Linked DNA regions of Homo sapiens: region 1 is linked to region 2. The links are contacts of gene promoters, found by promoter capture Hi-C in human tissues and cell types (Jung and others, 2019). All regions are on one chromosome and are shown on one strand. The core of a region is centred on a gene start or on the middle of the fragment in contact, and the rest is flanking DNA. Distances in the headings are between cores, read along the strand shown.

Region 1 (3,060 bases), core at 461-2,960, 62 kb after region 2:
TAAATATACATAAAGACATCTATAAATATATATAAAAACATCTATAAATATATATAAAGATGCATCTATAAATATATAAAGACATCTATAAATATATAAAGATGCATCTATAAATATATAGACATCTATAAATATATAAAGATGCATCTATAAATATATAAAGACATCTATAAATATATATAAAGACATCTATAAATATATATAAAGACACATCTATAAATATATATAAAGACATCTATAAATATATATAAAGACGCATCTATAAATATATATAAAGGCATCTATAAATATATATAAAGATGCATCTATAAATATATATAAAGACATCTATAAATATATATAAAGATGCATCTATAAATATATATAAAGATGCATCTATAAATATATATACAAATATATATATAAAAAGATATACATACAAAATATATATTTTTGTTAAGATATAGGGTCTTACTATGTTGCCCAGGCTGGTCTTGAACTACTCTTGGGCTCAAGCGATCCTCCTGTCTTGGCCTCCCAAAGTGCTGAGATTACAGGCATGAGCCACCACACCCCACTGATCCTCTGATTTCTAAGGAGAGCTGATGATGGTAGAGCAATAGTAGAAGAAAGGAAACCAGGTGAGTGACCACTACAACCATCCAGGCAGGAGGCAATGGTGCTTTGAACTAGGAGTGGTGTCTAAACAGGGGTAGAAAAGATGAGGCAGGAGGGAGAGACTTTTCTGACCAGGAAATAGAAGCAAGTTTCTTAAAACCAGGATCAGTCACACGAGGAGACTGATCCAGAGAATTACTGCTGCATGAAATGGCCCAGCTGGTTCCCAAGGCATTTTTGTGTTGCCATCTGACTCAGGAAGGGGGACAATGTTTTTGGACTGAGAACCACGCGGTCAGAATTCTGGGCTGGATACGGTGACACACGCCTGTAATCCCAGCACTTTGGGAGGCCGAGGTGGGTGGATCACCTGAGGTCAGGAGTTTGAGACCAGCCTGACCAACATGGTGAAATCCCATCTCTACTAAAAATAGAAAGAAATTTAGCCAGGTATGGCGGCATGTGCCTGTAGTCCCAGCTACTCGGGAGACTGAGGTAGGAGAATCGCTCGAACTTGGGAGGCAGAAGTTGCAGTGAGCCAAGATCACGCCACTGCACTCCAACCTGGGCGACAGAGCTAGACTCTGTCAAAAAAAAAAAAAAAAATTCTGGAGTTGCCATTTCTAAACCATAAAAACATGTGCAAGCTGGTTGTGGTCCTCCAAACTATATCTCTAAATCCTCTTTTCCAGCAGCTTTTCTCTAATTTCCAAACAATGACCATCTTCTCTAACGTGTTGCTTTGTATCTTGGGTGCTCGAAACAGTAAGTTCTCAGTAAACCCCAGCTATTCTGCTGCCGTTCTTGCTTCTTATTTTATTATGATTTTTCCACCAGTCTGGAGCATTCAGTACGGGATACATTTTGCTATTACATACCACACATGACATTGACTATATTACTTGTTTTTTGGTCTGTGTCTTCCATTAGATGGTGAGTATCTCAGGGGCAAGGACCATGTCCTAATGCCCAAAACAGTTCCTAGCAAAGAGTCAATAATCAATAAATGCCTGTAGAACCAGATCATAGCATATCTAATGCATAACTCCCAAGCAATGAGCTGCATTTCCCTAGTGTATTCTATAGCTTCAGTTTTGTGGGTAAAAATGCTTATGCAAGCTGCTCTTTTTCCAGCAATAGACAGTATCAGGTAGTGACCTTCCAAGGGCACATATGCATGGGGCTTTGGTTCAGAAGTCAGCTTTCTGCAAGAGTCTTTACAAAACACAGATATGGAAATGTTTATGGAGGACATGGTATCATGTCTGGGATTTGCTTTACAAACAATGCCAGTGATGTGATGGGGGTATAGACACAACAGGTTGGGCCATGAGCTGATGACTGCAGACAATGAGTAGAAGGGATTTCTTATGCTATTTTGCCTACCTTTGTATATTCTCAAACTTTTTCCATGATACTGCCCCCCCGTCCATCCCTTCTCACAAGCAAAGCCAAGGTAATCTTTCCACACAACAGATAGGACAACATCATTCTCCCATTTCAAATTCCCACTACCTTGTGGAAAGAATCAGAAAGAGGCAAATCTTGCTTAATTCTCACCACACTCAGGGCTTCGAATGCTTATCGGTTTCATGGGAAGAAAATGAAATACTGATAAAACCTGCGATGACATCTTTGGCTCCAGCAGTTATAGGCTTTCCTCCTTGGGGAGCAGCGTTCACAGCTATTTTCCCTTCTGCAAGCATTTTACTGCAAAGCAATTGTGAATGATGAATTGAGCATCTCAGAAATCATCAGCAATATATTCTGAGCAAACTGCCGAAAGGAAGCTTCGCCCAGCAATTCCCAAACCAGCAGTTGTTTATCATGTGTGCGGCCTATATGTAATTGGGATTCTGTGTTCCATTTCTTTGGGTACCTCCAAAGCTGTCTGCATCATGATTCTCCAGGGACTCAGAAAACAAAAGTGTTCTCCATCTTTTGAAGCGAATAAAGTTCTATAACGCAAACCTTGAAGGTCACGTTTCCCAGGGGCGGACATACCTAAAGCATGTGTCATAGGATCAGCTTTCCTTACAGCTAATCCCCCCAACAGCTGGGCTGGCTCTGTGACCTGTCAGACTGCTTCTGACCAGCCCGTGGTCCTTCACGGAAGGCTACGGGGATCGAGCTGACTGCCTTGATCAGCGGCAGCTGCTGCAAGCTGTTGGCAAGGGAGCTGCTGTTGATAGCCTTGAGCTGCATGAAATTTGTCACAGATGACGAGTCAACGTATAATTCACCCTTGCTGTGTAATTCTGAAAGGCACTCCCCCGTAATGAAAAGGGAGACATTATTTGAGGCATCCTTGGTCACTCTCCAACTTGCCCTATAGCAAATTATTCCACCCACCATGAGGGTCTTAGGACACACACCCACATTTTCCCAAAATTAGAGACGTGGCTTTACTGACTTTTTGTGGATAGAGGACCCTAGGAATCCAGATAAAGCCTCCAGGTATCC
Region 2 (3,417 bases), core at 335-2,834:
ATATAACATATATAAGTATACATAGCATATATAAGTATATATAGCATATATAAGTATATATAACATATATAAGTATATATAACATATAAGTATGTATAACATGTATAAGTATATATAACATATATAAGTATATAACATAAGTATATATAACATATAAGTATGTATAACATATATAAGTATATATAACATATATAAGTATATAACATAAGTAGATATAACATATATAAGTATATATAATATATAAGTACATAACATATATAAGTATATAACATATATAAGTATATATAACATATATAAGTATATATATAACATATATATCCTACATTTTCAACACGTGTAACAAATGTGGATAGTTTCAAAAAGATCATTTTACGTTCTAGTAGTTACCCTGTTTGACCAAAGTGTAGTACTTTTATTTTTCTATTGCAGTGCATTTTCTTTTTTTTTTTTGGCGGGAGGTGAGGGAGCGGAGCGGGGATGGAGTCTCACTCTGTCACCGAGGCTGGAGTTTAATGGCGTGATCTCGGCTCACTGCAGCCTCTGCTTCCTGGGTTCAAGTGATTCTCCTGCCTAAGCCTCCTGAGTAGCTGGGATTACAGGAGCCCGCCACCACGCCTGGCTAATTTTTTGTATTTTTAGTAGAGACGGGGTTTCGCTATGTTGCCCAGGCAGTCTCGAACTCCTGATCCGCCCGCCTTGGCCTCCCAAAGTTCTGGAATTACAGGAGTGAGCCACCGTGCCCGGCCTTTTTTCTGTTTTTTTTTTTTTTTTTTTTTTTTTGAGACGGAGTCTCTCGCTCTGTCGCCCAGGCTGGAGTGCAGTGGTGTGATCTCGGCTCACTGCAACCTCCACCTCTGGGGTTCAAGTGATTCTCCTGCCTCAGCCTCCCCAGTAGCTGGGATTACAGGCACCCACCATCATGGCCAGCTAATTTTTGTATTTTTAGTAGAGACAGGGTTTCACCTTGTTGGTCAGGCTGGTCTCAAACTCCTGACCTCAGGTGATCTACCCGCCTCGGCCTCCCAAAGTGCTGGCATGACAGGCGTGAGCCACCGACCCAGCCCTTTTTTCTTTTATATAGTTTTTGAGACAGGGTCTTGCTCTGTTGCCCAGGCTGGAGTGCAGTGGTGCGATCATACCTCACTACACCCTCGATCCCCAAGGCTCAAGTCATCCTCCAACCTCTGCCTCCTGACTATCTGACACTACAGGCGTGGGTAATTTTTAAATTTTTTTGAGACATAGTCTCACTTTGTTGTCCAGGCTGGAGTGCAGTGGCATGATCTCAGCTAGCTAATTTTAAAATTTTTTGTAGAGATGGGTGGGGGGAGGGTCTCACTATGTTGCCCAGGCTGGTCTCCAACTCCTGGGCACAAGCGATCCTCCCGCCTCGGCCTCCCAAAGTGCTGGGATTACAGGCATGAGCCTGGCCAGCATTTTCTGTTTGAATGTTTTTACGTAACCGGAGTCGTCATGATGGAGGTACAGTTCCTTGGACTTCCGGCTCCCATGGCTCTGGAAATCTCAGCTCGGACCCGCCCCTTCCGGCGCCGACTCCCCTGATTCTCCTGGGAACAGAAGAGTTCTGGGCACAGCACGCTGCGTCTGCGCAGTGCCGGGCGCAGGCCTCCCGACCTACGGGTCTAGGTACGGGCTCTAGCGTGGCCGGGGCACATAGAGTTCCTGGCCTAGAGCTGGTGGGGCGTAACGGCAGGAGTTAGGGTTCAGAGAAAACCAGCCCAGGGGCGGGTTCATCCTGTTACCCATTCAGCCTCAAGCGAGGTGGGGTGTGGTAGGTGGGCTGGTGCTAGAAACCACGCCGGGAATTGTTAATAACAGTCATCCCGGCCGGGCGCGGTGGCTCACGCCTGTCATCCCAGCACTTTGGGAGGCCGAGGAGGGCGGATCACCTGAGGTCAGGAGTTTGATATTAGCCTGACCAACGTGGCGAAACCCCGTCTCTACTAAAAATACAAAAATCAGCCGGGCATGGTGGTGGGCGCCTGTAATCCCAGCTACTCGGGAGGCTGAGGCAGGAGAATCGCTTGAACCCGGGAGGCGGAGGTTGCAGTGAGCGGAGATGGCGCCACTACAATCCAGCCTGGGCGACAGAGCGAGACTCCGTCTCAAAACAACAACAAAACCCCCAAAAAAGCGGTCATCCTCCAGGTGGAAGAGACAGAAGAGAGGGTGCGGAAGAGACTTAAAAGTCTTAGGCCTTCAAGCGTGTTTGCCTCAGCCACCCGTGAATCCTACAGGAAAACTAAAACAACTCGGCCACAAGCCCCCAAGTCTTGGGGAAGCGGACGGTTTCCCAGCCGAGCTTTAGGAGGAGGCGCCGCGGGACCTCACGGGTGACGTCGTCCCCGGGGGTAGTTTGCGCAGAGGGTCGCTTTGGGCGCGCTTAGAGTCGCGTGGTGCCTGGGCCAGCGAAGCCCAGGTGCAGTCATTTGTGGCCCTGTCCCGGCGCGCGAGGGGCCAAGGCTGGTCGGGGGCCGGGTCCGCGCGGTAGCAACTGCGTCCTGCCAGCTTCCATCTCTCCCTCTGAGGGCCTGAGCGGCTGCCAGAGTCAGGTCTGCAGGCCGGGCGCTCACGCGTCTGTGCCCAGTGAGGCCCCAAGATGCTGGTGAGGCCTCGACCCTGACTGGTGTCCAGGCTCTTGACACTGTCGTGAGAAGGAATTCATGGATGAGCAGAACAAAGTGTGGAGATTCATTGCGACGGGAATAAGTACGTACTGAAGAAAGAAAAGTGCAGGCATACCACAGAGCATCACGCCCAGCGGGGTTTGGAGCTACCTTTAAATATTTATTTAACCAAGGGGTGGAATATTCATGAAGATTCTTGGAAAAAGGTAAACATTTCTTGGTACTGCGGTGCCACACATTTTTATACTAAATACGGGTGTTCCCCAGAGCTGTCACAGTGGGTGTGTGACTTAGTATGTTAATGAGCACATAATGAGAGGTCCTAGGTGAAACGGGTCGAATCCAGCACCATGTTGGGTCCAGTCGGCTTTAGCCAGCTTGGCCCACACCCTGGTTTTCAGAGTCTTATCCGCCCCTAGCTTACGCAGCGATTTCAACGGTTTCCTTTGCTAGTCATGTGAAACTGTTGCCTGGAATTTTCCGTTCTCCTGTGACCACCTTTATTATTCCTGTCTCAAGGGGCACCCCATTTGTGCCTATAAGGAGACTGCATTGGGACCAGGCTCCTGGCTGCTCATGGAGCCTCAGCCAGATGGTTGTGTGCCTGAGTCCTGTGTTCATTCCACAAACATGCAGCAAGGCTGCGTGGGTTGGAGCCCTGCCTCCAGCGCTTCCCTGCTGCATGACACTGGCAAGTTGCTTAAGCTCTCTGTACCCCATTTCCTCCTCAATAAGGCAGGGATGGTGATCGTACTAGTTCCAAAGGATT

The links. The method cuts DNA at HindIII sites, captures the fragments that hold promoters and counts their contacts. A contact is called where the count stands out against the background at its distance.
Region 1: a fragment that was not itself captured here is called in contact with the fragment with the promoter of USP29 in region 2 in 3 of the 25 tissues and cell types used here (neural progenitor cells, psoas muscle and spleen).

The regions. Positions count from the first base shown.
Region 1 is chr19:57,056,816-57,059,875 of GRCh38, reverse strand. No RefSeq gene overlaps it. Among named protein-coding and RNA genes, the nearest start is that of USP29, 62 kb to the left of the region's middle. The HindIII fragment of the contact is 6,225 bases long and covers 1-3,060 here.
Region 2 is chr19:57,118,152-57,121,568 of GRCh38, reverse strand. It overlaps USP29 (ubiquitin specific peptidase 29), which reads right to left and starts at 1,584. Exons shown (of 4, transcript NM_020903.3): 1 at 1,340-1,584. The HindIII fragment of the contact is 14,839 bases long and covers 1-3,417 here.